Regions from separate parts of the Homo sapiens genome. Here region 1 is linked to region 2. Evidence: promoter capture Hi-C in 16 types of primary human blood cells and fetal thymus (Javierre and others, 2016). All regions are on one chromosome and are shown on one strand. The core of a region is centred on a gene start or on the middle of the fragment in contact, and the rest is flanking DNA. Distances in the headings are between cores, read along the strand shown. Region 1 has its middle 24 kb from the start of ATP2B4. Region 2 holds the start of FMOD (fibromodulin).

Evidence for each region. Contacts are between HindIII fragments. The CHiCAGO score rates a contact against its expected background, and 5 or more counts as called.
Region 1: a contact is called between a fragment that was not itself captured here and the fragment with the promoter of FMOD in region 2, in 1 of 17 cell types (M1 macrophages). The highest score is 5.3, in M1 macrophages.

Annotation. Positions count from the first base shown.
Region 1 is chr1:203,599,893-203,606,508 of GRCh38, forward strand. No RefSeq gene overlaps it. Among named protein-coding and RNA genes, the nearest start is that of ATP2B4, 24 kb to the right of the region's middle. RefSeq lists enhancers at 356-856, 857-1,357. The HindIII fragment of the contact is 2,154 bases long and covers 2,390-4,543 here.
Region 2 is chr1:203,347,965-203,355,069 of GRCh38, forward strand. It overlaps FMOD (fibromodulin), which reads right to left and starts at 3,158. Exons shown (of 3, transcript NM_002023.5): 1 at 3,069-3,158; 2 at 1-313. The coding sequence starts at 306. It also overlaps the pseudogene LOC100131747. The HindIII fragment of the contact is 3,247 bases long and covers 2,790-6,036 here.

The sequences.
Region 1 (6,616 bases), core at 2,217-4,716, 250 kb after region 2:
CCATCAGTCCAACCAGCTCCCAGTCCAACCAGCTCTGGATCCAGATCCCAAGAGAGGGTTCTTAGATCTCACACAAGAAAGAATCCGAGGCAAATACATACAGTAAAGTGAAAGCAAATTTATTACGAAAGTAAAGGGGCTGTTCTGCCTATGGAGTAGCCATTCCTTTGCTTTCTTAATAAACTTGCTTTCACTTAAAAAAAAAAAAAGTAAAGGAATAAAGAATGGCTACTTTATAGGCTGAGCAGCCCCGAGGGCTGCTAGTTGCCCATTTTTATGACTATTTCATTTGTAAACTGTCATGGGACTGGTGAGAGTGTAGCAGTGAGGATGACCAGAGGTCACTCTCTTCACCATCTTGTTTTGGTGGGTTTTAGCCAGCTTATTTACTGCAAACTGTTTTATCAGCAAGGTCTTTGTGACCTGTATCTTGTGCCAATCTCCTATCTCATCCTGTGACGTAGAATGCCTAACTATCTGGGAATGTAGCCCAGTAGGTCTCAGCCTTATTTTACCCAGCTCCTAGTCAAAATGGAGTCACTCTGGTTCAAATACCTCTGACACTAGGAGTCTGATTCAGTTCAGCTGGGTCTCACTTCCTGACCTGTTTCCACCTCAGTGCTCTAACCTGCCCATTGCCCCCTCAGCCTGAGGAAGCAGGTTTCTTTCAAGCACGTCTGAGGCTGCACTCTCACTATGCAGTACCACACTCCCACCCTCACTGAAAGGCAGGCCACCCCGCCCCCACAGCCCTGCCTCCATTACACAAAGATCCACCTCACCCCCACCAGAGGCCCCAGGCTAACTGGAAGGACCCTAGGCCGCATTATGGACTGTCTTGGGGACAGCTAGAGGCAGGCCTGCACCCAGATGAAGATGTGGGGAGGCAGAACAGAGTCTGGAGTCTGGAGAATTGGGCTGTCTCTTGGTTCCAATAGTGCTGTGGCAGATAAACAATTACCGAGGGCTTTCTGCAGGCCAGCCAGACAGGGGCCTAGCCTGGGACTACTACTGTTCCCCCTCTAGGCTGCCCCCACCAGCTAGCTCTCTGCACCACACGGAACCGGAACCCGAACACTGAGCCGCACTCCCATGTCCAGCCACATCTGCTTGCTCTCCATCTCACCTTCTTCTTCATCTCCCTTTCCCTAAAACTTTTCTGAGCCTCTTCTTGTTTTCTCCCCATTTCTTCAATTTCTTCCCTGCCCTCTCCTTCTTTATTTCTCTTTCTTTTCCCCTCCTCTCTTCCCCTCTCCTGTTCTCCTCCAGAGTTCTTCCCTCCCCTCCCCATCCATCCCCCAAGTCCACACCCCATCCCTCCTGCCACTATATTTAGCTCCCAGCCGGGGCTTTAGAAAGGCGCCACTGCTGGAGCTGGCGTCTAGTCTTGAAGGGTCTGTCAGCATTTCCATAAGAGGCTCAGCTGGGATGAGTTTATGACTGAGCTATTTTCTTTCCTTGCCTCACCGGCCCTGGGCTGAGCATAAGCAGAAAGGGGACCTCCAGGTACATTGGAGAGTTCTCCCCTGACATGGGCAAGCTCTTCCAAAGAAAAAGGAACTATGGGTTAAATCTTAGGTGAATCTGGGACCTAGGTAACTAGCAATTTGTGGGGCACAGCGAGTTAGGACTCTGCTATTGGTTAGGAACTCCCAGAGCCTGAGGGCAGAGCCTTCCTAGCCAGAGCGGGAGCAAATGTTTGCCCTCAGGATTCATCATATGACCTAAGCAACTTTGAAAGACTTCTTTCCCCAAAGTATTCACCAGCCTGCTATGGTCTCTGTAATCCCCACTGTTATAGCCATTTCTTTCTGTTAAACCAATGCCTCTAGAAGACCTCCTATAAAAATCATTTCCAATATTTGATGGACACATTACTAAGTGGTTTGAACACACCATTGCTTTTGATCCTCACAATTTAGCACTTTGATGAAACTTGCTGAGGACACTCAGTTCATTTTTATTTTTATTTTTTGAGACAGGATCTAGCTCTGTTGCCCAAGCTGGAGTGTAGTGACGCAATCTCTGCTCACTTCAGCCTAGACCTTCTGGGCTCAAGCGATCCTCCCACCTCAACCTCCCAAGTAGCTGGGACTACAGGCATGTGCCACCATGCCTGGCTAATTTTTGTACTTTTTGTGGAGATGGGGTTTTGGCATGTTGCCCAGGCTGGTCTCATGAACTCCTGGGCTCAAGCAATCCACCAGCCTCGGCCTGTAGTGCTTGGACTGCAGGTATGAGCCACCCCACCCGGCCAACACCCAGCTTAGTAGCAGTCAAGCCTAAGCTTGAATGCAGGTCTTGCACCTCCGACTGTTGTACTTTCTTCACCACACTGAATGAAACTGCCGCCCTGGGTAGACCAAGAATTTACAGCTACAAGGCCAGAAGCTTCAGCAGCAGGTTCAGAGACCTGGCTGGAATCCTGGCTCTACTACTTAAGTGTTATGTGGCCTTGGGCAGGTCACTTCACTACAGTGAGTCCCTCAGAGGACCGTTATGAGGACATAATGACCTAAATGCTCAACAGATAGGTGTTAATAAAGGGTAAATAGTATCACTTTCATGTTAACAGAGCCAGATCCCTGAAAGTGGGGGATGTGGGACAACCAAGTTCCATGGGACAGGATAGCAGGGATCTGGAGAGGTGTGGGCTGTGGCATGCGTGAGATGAGCAGCAGACCTGGCTAGCATGTGCAGGTGCAGGGGCATGGGGCAGCAAATGCCAACCACCATGTAGTCCCTTGAGTGGGATGATACATAAACACCATTCACATCTATCTGTTCATTTACTCCCAAAGGCTGAGGATGGCTGTAAGTGGGAGACAGAGCCAGCATTATTATCCCCATTTTACAGGTATGGAGACCAAGGTCCAGAAGAGGAAAGTAATCTGCCCAAGGTCACAGCTAATTATTTCATTCATTTGTTCACTCTCTCATTGAAGATATATATATATATATAGTCTACATATAGAGAGAGAGACTCCAGGCTGGAGTGCAGTGGTGTGATCTTGGCTTACTGCAACCTCTGCCTCCCAGGTTCAAGTGATTCTCCTGCCTCAGCCTCCCAAGTAGCTGGAATTACAGGCGCCCACCACCATGCCTGGCTAATTTTTGTATTTTTAGTAGAGATGGGGTTTCACCATGTTGGCCAGGCTGGTCTCAAACTCCTGACCTCAGGTGATCCGTCATCCTCGGCCTCCCAAAGTGCTGGGATTACAGGCGTGAGCCAGTCACTGCGCCTTGCCTTCTCATTGGATATATAGTGAGCATCTACTACATGCAGATGCTGTGTTATACACTGGACATACTCAGTGACAGAGCTAGAATCAGAACCCAGGACCGGGACACCTGTCCCATGAATTCTCCAGTATAAGACTGCCATGCAGCCTTAGGGCCAGAGTTACTGGTTCTACTGGTGACAAGTAGGGACTGACCATAGGTAGAGGACAAAGGTGCACCCTGTATGGATCATCTCTAACCCTTTGGCCTTACCCAACCCCCACCCCATACTAGCTTGGGAAAGCCACATTGCAATGTTTCCCTGAAAGGCGGGCAAAGAAGTTGCAGAGTAAAGAGACCTCGGGCGAGCATAGTTCTCGATCCCTTGGGTCCTTAGTCTTTCTAGAGCCCAACCACAAATGCCATATCTACCACCCCATGACAAGATGGCTGTTCCCCTCCAACAGGAGCAGCTGGAGGGTCCCCCAGGATCCAGAAATCCTGACTATTAGGTTAGAGCAGGGCTTCAGAGACTTCAAGTGAACTGGAGGACAGAGATACTCCATCCCATTCACCTTCCTGGGACAAAGGAAGTTACTTCCTGGCTTCTCTCTGAATGCTACACTAATTCTTCCTCCTGGGATAAGAACATCATTTATAGCATCAGATAATGTAGATGGGTTAAAGGGTGGGAGAAACAGAGGTAGAGTAACTTCAAGAGTTGTAAATAGGACCATGAGGTTGCCCAAGGAGATGTGCAATTTCCCTAAATCTCTCCCATCCATCCATGGCCCATCCACACACCCACTTGAATATCTACCCACCCACCCACCCATCCATCCACCCACCCACCCACCCATCCATCCACCCACCCACCCATCCATCCATCCACCCATCCATCCATCCATCCATCCATCCACCCACCCACCCATCCATCCATCCATCCACCCATCCACCCATCCATCCATTCATCCACCCATCCATCCATTCATCCACCCAACCATCCATTCATCCATCCACCCAGCCATCCATTCATCCACCCACCCAGCCATCCATTCAACCATCCACTCAATATAGTTTATTGGGCATCTATAAGGCAAATGCTAACATTAGTGTTTTCCTCTCTCTCCTGCTTCTTTTTCTTCACAAGATCCAAGGGTAAGAAGGCGGCAAATATCCAAGGGTAAGAAAGCAGGAAATATTTTTTCTAGAGATTATCTCTTCAACCAATCAGCCTCTACTAAAAACCAAGCTAATTCCCCAGATAAACCAGCTTCCCCCAGCTGCTGGTACCTGTGATGAACAATCTTTCCTGCCCAGAAGCTTTTATTGTGTTTAACTTGAAGCCCTCCAGCACCATCTATGCTGCATTTGCTGCTCTCACCTGAACACTTCTTCTCCCCTTTGCTGTTCTATTTTTCATTTGCTCCCTTATTCTCATGGCCTCCAGGAAAGAGCTTAGACCTGGAGTCAGAAAACTTCATTTTGAATTCTAGCTCTTTCAGTCACAGTTGAATGACCATAGCCAGTTTCTCCATCTGCAAAATGAGTATAATAATACCCAGTTGTTGTGAGGATCAAATGAGATAATGGATGGGAAGCAGTTTTGTAAACTGTAAATGGCCTTACTCATGTGAAGGTTTATCATTAATTCCCCCTGTTTCTCTGACACCAAAGAGAGACAAGCTGGGGAAGGCAACAGGACTCTAGGTCAGAGCTGAGAATGATGCATTTGAACCCTAACTCTGCCCTCTGGCTCTCCAGGAGACCGTGGGAAAGCCATGAAACCTCTGAGCCTCGGTTTCCTCACCAGGAAAGGAGTCATTAGATCCATGTGCTTCCACCAGCTGGGGAGAGGAGTTGCTTGTAAACAGTGATGGCTCACTCTCTATTTTAGAGATGCTTCTGAGCTCACCACCACCAATTACCATTTATTGAACACACAAGATGCTATATCCTGGGCTGGGTAACTAGAACTTCCAAAGGCCTAGGCCTTGACCAGGGATGGCAGACTACCTACCCTAGCCCTGTCGAGGAGCTGAGCAAGGCACCCTCTCACCACACGTGTTTCCCTGCCTTCTCTGCTCCTGCATAACTCAAGTAGAAGTGACAGGCCTTATCCCTGGTATAGGCCACCAACATATGGCAGGACCCTAAATAATCAGAAAAAGGAGGATTTCCTTGTCAAGTCTGAGACTACTCAGCTGCCAAGGACTGCTAATCTCTGCTTCTCATTGTCTCTCACAGCTGCACCTCCTTTCTGCTTCTGCTGTCCTCCTGGAGGATTCTCAAGCTGACGTTGTTGTGTAACCTACTAGTGGATCCCCACAGCTTCGGCATTGCTTCTCTCCCATTCCTTCCACCCACTGCTGTCATATTAATCTTCCCAAAATGCTGCTTTGGCCTCTCAGTTTCCTCTTGGACACCTTCAATGATGCTTTGTTGTCTAGAAGACAAAACAACATTTTGAAATCAAGCTGACCTGGTGCCAATCCTGGCCCTGCCACTGATGGGCAGGTTACTCCAACCTCTCTGAGCAACCAGTTTCTCAACTGCAAAATGAGGCCAATAGTACTGCTATCATGTTACTGTGATTAAACCTTAAGATACAGTTATATGCCACATAATGACATTTTGGTCACCAACACACTGCATATACGATTGTGGTCCCATAAAAACTATAATATCAGTCAGGAGTTCGAGACCAGCCTGGCCAACATGGCGAAACCCCATCTCTACTAAAAATACAAAAATTAGTTGGGCGTGGTGGCAGACACCTGTAATCCCAGCTACTCGGGAGGCTGAGGCAGGAGAATTTCTTCAACCTGGAAGGTGAAGGTTGCAATGAGCCTAGATCACGCCACTGCACTCCAGCCTGGGTGACAACAGTGAGACTTCATCTCAAAAAATAAATAAATAAATAAATAAATAAATAAATAAATTATAATACCATATTTTCATGGTACCTTGTCTATGTTTAGATATGTTTAGACACCAGTGTGTTATAATTGCCTATAGTACAATAACATGCTGTACAGGTTTATAGCCTAGGAGCAATAGGCTATACCATCCAGCTTAGGTGTGTAGTAGGCTACACCATCTAGGTTTGTGTGGGTATACCTATGATGTTTGCAAAACAATGAAATCACCTAACAATGCATTTCTCAGACTGTAGCTCTGTTTGTTAAGTGACTCAGGACTGTTTATGTAAGGCACGGTGCCTAGCTTGTAGAAATTACTCAGTATACGTTAGCTCTTTCCCTTTTCCTCTCCTCTTTTCTTTGGTATTACTTCCCTCCATGGTCTCCACAAGCAAGGGGCACGGTGTGAGCCTAATTGTACATCTACCCTGGGAATTCTGGAACCCTGATGCTGACAACCAATACATCACATT
Region 2 (7,105 bases), core at 1,908-4,407:
GAAGGGCAGGTACTTGAGGTTGCGATTGTCACAGTACATGGCCGTGGGGAAGTTGGGTGGGCAGTCGCACTCCTGGGGGCAGTCGCGGGGATCTGGAGGGGATGGAGAGCCGTAGGTGTAGGCTGGCCCTTCATCCACCCCATAGGGGTAAGGCTCGTAGGTCTCATACGGGTAAGGGTCATAGGGATCGTAGTAGGTGGACTGCTGGCTGCGGAGGTAGTGGAACCACCAATGAGGGTCATCTTCATACTGGGCCTGGGAGAGGGAGAAGAGCCCTGCCAGCAGCAGGAGGGAGGTCCACTGCATTTTGTCTCTGCAAGAAGCGGGAGAGAACAGAGCAAGCCAGCATGAGTGAGACTCCACAGAGGCAGTGAGGCAGAGTAGGCAAGCCTTAGGCTTTGAGCTATGCAGAGCTGACTTCCATGTCAAACATCTGAGAGCAGGAGCCTTGCTCTCATTTCTTCGGTGCCTCCTCCCAGTCTGGTTCTGCACTTGGTCCAGCCGGACCATGGCTATTTGGGGTGAGCTAAGTGCATTTTCCCCTGGTCATAGAGTCACAGACAGAATGTCTTTGAATGGGAACAGCTGCATTTTTTTTTTGGAGGGGCAGATTCTTAGGAGCCTCTAGCACTCTGAAAGTCCTGTGGGAAAGCTGAAAAGCCCACAGCAATCCCTGTGTTTGTGGTGTGGTGGTAAGGATGGTAGTGGGATGCTCTTCAGATCTGAACCCAAATCCAGTTTGGATGTTCCGGGGAAATAGTATTTTTCTAAGAGTCCAAGGAGAAAGCCCTAGGATGGGAGACCTCCAGAAGCCGCTTGACGCATCGAAGGGGAAGAGCTGAACTACATCTGGAAAATCTTTTGGTCTCTTGGGCAGGCTGGGAGTTTTTGGTCTTGAGTGTTTGGGGAGGAGTGTGGTCCCTCTGCAGCCACCACAAGGCTCAGGTTGCCCTCCAAAGTGCCATCATCTGTAACAGTCTGCTGAGTGAGGAAACTCACTGGTTAGCAGTTTGTGGCTACACATGCAACTTGGCTGGGACAGGGTCTTCATGCAGCAGTTACAAATCCTTTCCAGACTGAGGACCCTGGCACTGGGTGTGGCACTTGCCTTCTAAAGCAGGTACTCAGTGTGTGAAGTCTGAGTTAATCTGCTTCTCTCTTCCATGGTGCCTAGTAAGGTGTTAGCACTCCTCATGCTCCACCATGGGCATCATGCAAGAGCCATGTGGGGCCAAGAGAAATGAATGAGGGACACCAAAAGAATAGCTAGAGATTGGAAACTCTTGTGTATGCTCAAGGGAAAGCAGCTTGAGGTAGGACCCTGACATTCTCCTCTCCTTTCCCAAGCTACCTGCTCCCAGCGATGACACCTAGATGACCAGGCTCTGTGTCTAGGTCCCCACATTGCTGGAAACCTGTTGCTTTTGAACCTGTTGTGCTAATGAGATAGGAACAGGGCAGACTGAAGAGGAAATGTGGGTCTGATGTCATCTGAGAGGGAAACTAAAGGTATGGAAGGTAAGAGACTAGGGGTGGCCTGGGTACCCTACCCTGGTTACCTATAGCCAATGCATGACATACTCCTGTGAGCAGTGGGCATCTTCCTGAGTGTCACCCTTGGACAGAGAAACCTTAGAATCTTTCTTGGCCTGGAAGAGTCACATACAGCCCTCACATTGCTGTTGGGCCTACTGGGGTTGGCAACTGTAAACAGAAGAAAGAAAGGAGTATAAAAGCCAACATCATCAGATCCAGTGAACTGATGGGAAAGACCCCAACTATGACACTCAACAGAGTTACCTCCTGACCACCATCCATCCCAGACCTCTCTGTCCCCTCAAAACAGTTTCCTTGGGCCCACTTCATCCCATCAGTTCCTAGGTTGCAGAGGAGCAGGCACCCTGGCTCATCCACAGGCAGCCTCAGGCCTCAGACAAAGAGCCACAGTGTTTTGGAGAAGCTGACCCAACTGCCCACTGCCTGGGCAAGCTGGCTGGTTCCTGGCTCTGGCCAGGAGAGAAGACGAATGGAGCGGCCCACTGCCAACAGAGCATTTTTCCATGCACAGCCCTGGGCTGTTGCAGGACCAAGGTGGCTGTCTGGAGGGCTGGCACAGTGAGCCTCTGTCTCCGTTTCTCCTTCTTTCAGACTGGGCACCTTGGCAGACAAGAGCCACCTTCCCCTTCAGACTCAGCTTTCTAGGGGCTGTGCACCCTGCCCACTTCAGCCTCTTCTTAGAGCCATGGGTGCTGAAAGGGTTTGATGGGGAGCTTATGCCTCTCCTTACCCCATCCCATCTCTTAGCAATGTTGCTTCAGGGTTGCATAGTCTTACACTGTTTCCCATAATGCTAGAGGCCCTCCTGTGCTCAGAGTTTCTGTAAGGTCGAAAGTTTCCAGGACTGCCACACTATCAGCTGGGGGAAGTTTACTCAGGAGCTACTGCTGTTCTTTCATTTCTCCACTCTAGAGAAAGATCTCTCCCTCCTATCAGTGGAGAAGGTCAAGCCAGAGGCCATCCCCTCACCTGGATTGCATCCCCACCCCAATCCACAGCTCCCTGGACATGGCCAGTTCTCAATGCTTCTTTTTATTCTCTCCTTTCCACTCCAAACACACACACACACACACACACACACACATTCTACACAAAAGTTTCCCCCTCTCCCATAATAGCATTTATGTACCAAACCCCTCTATAAGAGAGATTGCAGGGACATCCAGGTCTTGGAATACCCTTCAAAATGCCCACACTCCCAGCATGATGGGATTTATGAGTAGCAGGGAAGAAGCTTCCCTAGACAGAGGGTCCTTCACTTTTTCATGCCTGAGAATTGGAGGTCCCCTCAGCACCCATAAAGGAACTGTAAGAGAAAGGTACAGGGCTGGAACCCCTCCCTTATACACCCTCTCTGCCACTCTCCAGCATCCCTGGGGTCATGGCCCAGATGTGGAGAAGGAGGAATGAACCCTCCCTGCCTCCCCATCTCCCCTATCCCCTACCACTTTTCCTTTATTTCTTTTAAGGAACTGCTAGGGACAAACCCGAAGTAAAACGACTATACTTACCTCAAGTTGAACTTTTCAGAGAGTGACCACGTCCCTCTGTCTGGCCTCCTTGGGTTGGAGAACGTGTGAGAGAGGAAGAGAGAGAGGAGTGAAAGAGTCTACTGAGAGTGTGCGTGCCTGTGCCAGACCAGGGTCCCGCCCCAAATTCCTAATCAAATATTGTGAAAAGGGGCTGAGGAACCCGGATCCTGGTTTTTTTCAGCTCTGCTGCAGGGGCGGAGTTCACGCTCAACCACGCAAATCCTTCGGTCCGCCTGACGCTATAAAAACCACCTTTTTTCCACTCACTTATCTTCCCTGAAACATTGGCAGCCCTGGGTCCCTTTCTGCTGAATGAGTTAGTGGCGCCCTAGAAGTTATTTGTACAGTCTCTTATGAAGCGCCTGGATTTCTCATTAAAGCCACAAAGGCAGATGCAGGGATGGGGAGGGCCAGGGTTTGGTAAGAGACATCTTAACTCCTTCAGCAACCCACATGTCCCTCCAGAGAGCGAGAACTCGCGCTTCTCAGCTCCCCCTATAGACAGGTCATCAGGCTAGTGGATAAGGGAGCATGAATGACAAGGGACAGCCGGCTCTGGTTCCAGTTCTATCCCTAAGCAGTGTAGACTTTTCTAGGCTACAGGTCCTGCCCACCTCCACCACTGGAACAAAAGGAAAGGCAGGGACTCCAGCATTTGCTGATCACTGCTTATGCACTAGCATCATCCACTTCCACTTAATGCTCACAACAAATTCAGAGTTAATAACACTTACCTTGCTGGGTTGTAGCAAGGACTGTATCAGGTGATGTGTGGGAGGCTCCTGACCTGGCACATAGCTGAGGTTCACTGTGTCCTACCCATTTCACAGCCATAGAATTCCTCAGCCAGGGAAAGACAAGATCAGAAAGCTGGGCAGGAGCTGTACCATGAAAGGACTTTTGGGCGATGGAAGTGATTTGGTTTTTATTCTAAATGTTTTTGTTGTTGTTGTTGTTGTTTGTTTGTTTGAGAAGGAGTCTCAGCTGGGCGTGGTGGCTCATGCCTGTAATCCCAGCACTTTGGGAGGCCGAGGCAGGAGGATCATGAGGTCAGGAGATCGAAAAGGAGTCTCGCTGTGTCGCCCAGGCTGGAGTGCAGTGGCACAATCTCTGCTTTCTGCAACCTCCGCCTCCCAGGTTCAAGCCGTTCTCCTGCCTCAGCCTCCTGGGTAGCTGGGACTACAGGCACACGCCACCACGCCCAGCTAATTTTTTGTATTTTTAGTAGAGACAGGGTTTCATCATATTGGTCAGGCTGGTCTTGAACTCCTAAACACAGGTGATCCACCCACCTCAGTGCCCCAAAGTGCTGGGATTACAGGCGTGCGTCATCCGGTCCGGCCTATTCTAAATGTTTAAAAAAAAAAACATGTTTCAAGCAGGAGAAGCCATGGGATCTGATTTGCATGGGATCTAATTTACATTTTAAAAGCATGTAGGAGGGGCTGCTGTATGGAGAAGGGGAGGCCAGGGTGGAAGCAGGGAGGCTCCAACCCAGCCTCAAGGAGAGGTAATGGCAGATTGGACTGGTGCAATGGAAGAGAAGATCTTATATTTTAGACAGAGAACTGACAAGTCTTGCAGAGTTAGGAAAAGTCAAGGATGATTCCTAGAATTTTAGTTTGAGCAACTGGGTAGGTGGTGGTAACATTTCTTGACATGGGAAAGGTGACGTGGGACTGAGTTGGGTAGAAAACCAAAGTTACATTTTGGATATGCTGTTAGAGATGCCTGCTAGGCATTCCCCTGGAGATGCACGTAGACCGTTGGACATATGAATCTGAATCTGGAGTTTAGGGGCTGGAAGAAAACATTTGAGAACCATTATAATGTGGGTCACACAGAATCTCAATAGCTTAGATAAACTCATGTGTCCTAAATGTTCTCTCCTCAAGTATGTTAACTGGCTTATGCCAACATCAAAGAAACACCTTTATCTTAAAAAAATACCAACTGAGAAACCCTGAGATGACTTGAATTTGAAGAATTTAGAAGTGTCGAGGCAGATGGTCCTTTTGGTTTCTCCAATAGGTTTGAGCTTTTGACTTAGCGTGTGGGCTGTCAGAAAGGGCCTTGTCAGGGACCCATTCTCAGAATTTAAGAAGAGATTTCAAAAAGATGAAACCTAATGAATGAGCCTTTTCTGACCACCTACTATAGACTAGGTGGTTTACTTATGTTATCAAAGATAACAGTAGATATTTTGCATTGGAATTAGTGTTTTTTTTTCAAAGCTACTTTTAATACTTTGGGGTGAGCCCCACAGGAATAAAAAAACACTGGGAAGGGGTAACCTCCCACCCGCCACTTCCAGGAGGGGCCAGGGGGAGAGAGGCTACGTGAGGGGAAGGAAGCACAAAAGGGACCCGCTGCAGACTCAGGGCAAAAGGAGGCCATGGGTGCGGGGACCTGCGGGCACTGCAGGAGGAAACGTGAGGGTGGTGGGACTGGCTCCAGTCACATAGGCGAAGGGCAGGAGGGTTGGACATGAAGCCACAAAGCTACTCGGGTTCCTCCTTCTTCTCTTTTGCCTTCTTCTGCTCCTGCTGCTTGGTCTCTGAGCTCCTCTGCTTGCCGCAGCAGCAGAAAGCCCGTCATCTCGACGTTTTCCCTTAACTGAGTCACTCTGCTTTTTCCTATTTTTCTAGCCAGTAAGCTCATGCTGGTTACTGCGGGTCATGGTGACAGCAGTGGCTCCGACCTGCCTCTGTTATGTCACCTCATTCTGTCAGGATTTTTTTTTTTTTATTTTTGACCCTGCTTTCAGCCAAGGAATTAGGGTTTTAGTGATATAAAGTGACTAGCTGGTAAGTGGCAAAACAAGGATCTGAACCTTGGTCTACATGACTTGAAAGCCCACACACTTTTCTCTAACTCTAGCACAGAGGATTGGCAAAGTGGAGGGGCAATGACTACCCTGCTGTCAGGCTGGCCTCGACTAAGATGAAGCTTAATTAATTACGATTGACCAATCTGCCTGAATCTGGGGGCAGGGGGGTTTTAAAGTGAGATGGGGCTGGGGTATAGGGGTTCTCTTCCTCATCCCACCCATATTTCATTTCCGTTTAATAAATTTGAGCATCTACTATGTGTTGGGCATGATCCTAAGTGTTGGAGACACAAAGAAGGCTTCGGTATAATGCCTGATTATAATAAAGCAGATCTGAATGTAGCAAACTCTGACCTCATGAGTGAAGCAGAATGGCCTTACTGTGAAAATGCTTATGAATAATGCACAGATAACTTTCTAGTCATTTTTGAGTCCAGAAAGCAGTCACCTTTCAGTGGAGGACACTGATCTTGGCAACCGAGCCTGGGAAACACTTTTAAATGAGCCTAGATAGCCTGGACAGATTCACCATTGGGTACAGATGTTTATTTTTTTAAATTCCAGCATGCTGACTAATTCTGCATTTACTAACAATGAAAGTTACTAAAGTCTGGGAACCAAATAGTGACTGGATTCTTCCCAACCGGGCACCACCAAAAAGACAGTATCTCCATGGGGTTTTTTGGCCATTTCTAAAGTGGTGAGATGTGCACCAGGTCTTTAGCTATCCATCCTGTTCCAAGGCAGGCCTGGGATGAAGGAAGGATGGAAGGGATGATTGGGACCAGGTCAGAAGGCAGAGTTTCAGGGAACCACCCACTGTTCAAAAGTTCTTTTCTCTAACCTTTAGTGGAGGTTTCTACCTCCATTTTGGCCACTGCTGCTTTGTTTGCCTGGTTCCTGGATCTAGGCCCTCAGAGCTTGCCTTCAACATGGGAAGCCAAGAATGAGATATTGATGTCCACCAGATTGCTTGCTGAGGGAGTCCACATGTGAAGGAGGACACCAGTATCTTCTAGGGGGTGTCTAGCCAGCACTATGCAGTCACTAGACTGAAAATAAACTAAAGAGAAAGGCAATGTCATGCATTTCTGTAGCCCCTGTCCCAGCTGGGCACACAATGCGTTGGCACTTAGTAGGCAATCAGTAAAGGGTTATGAAAGGAATTGTATTTTTGGCTCCCCAC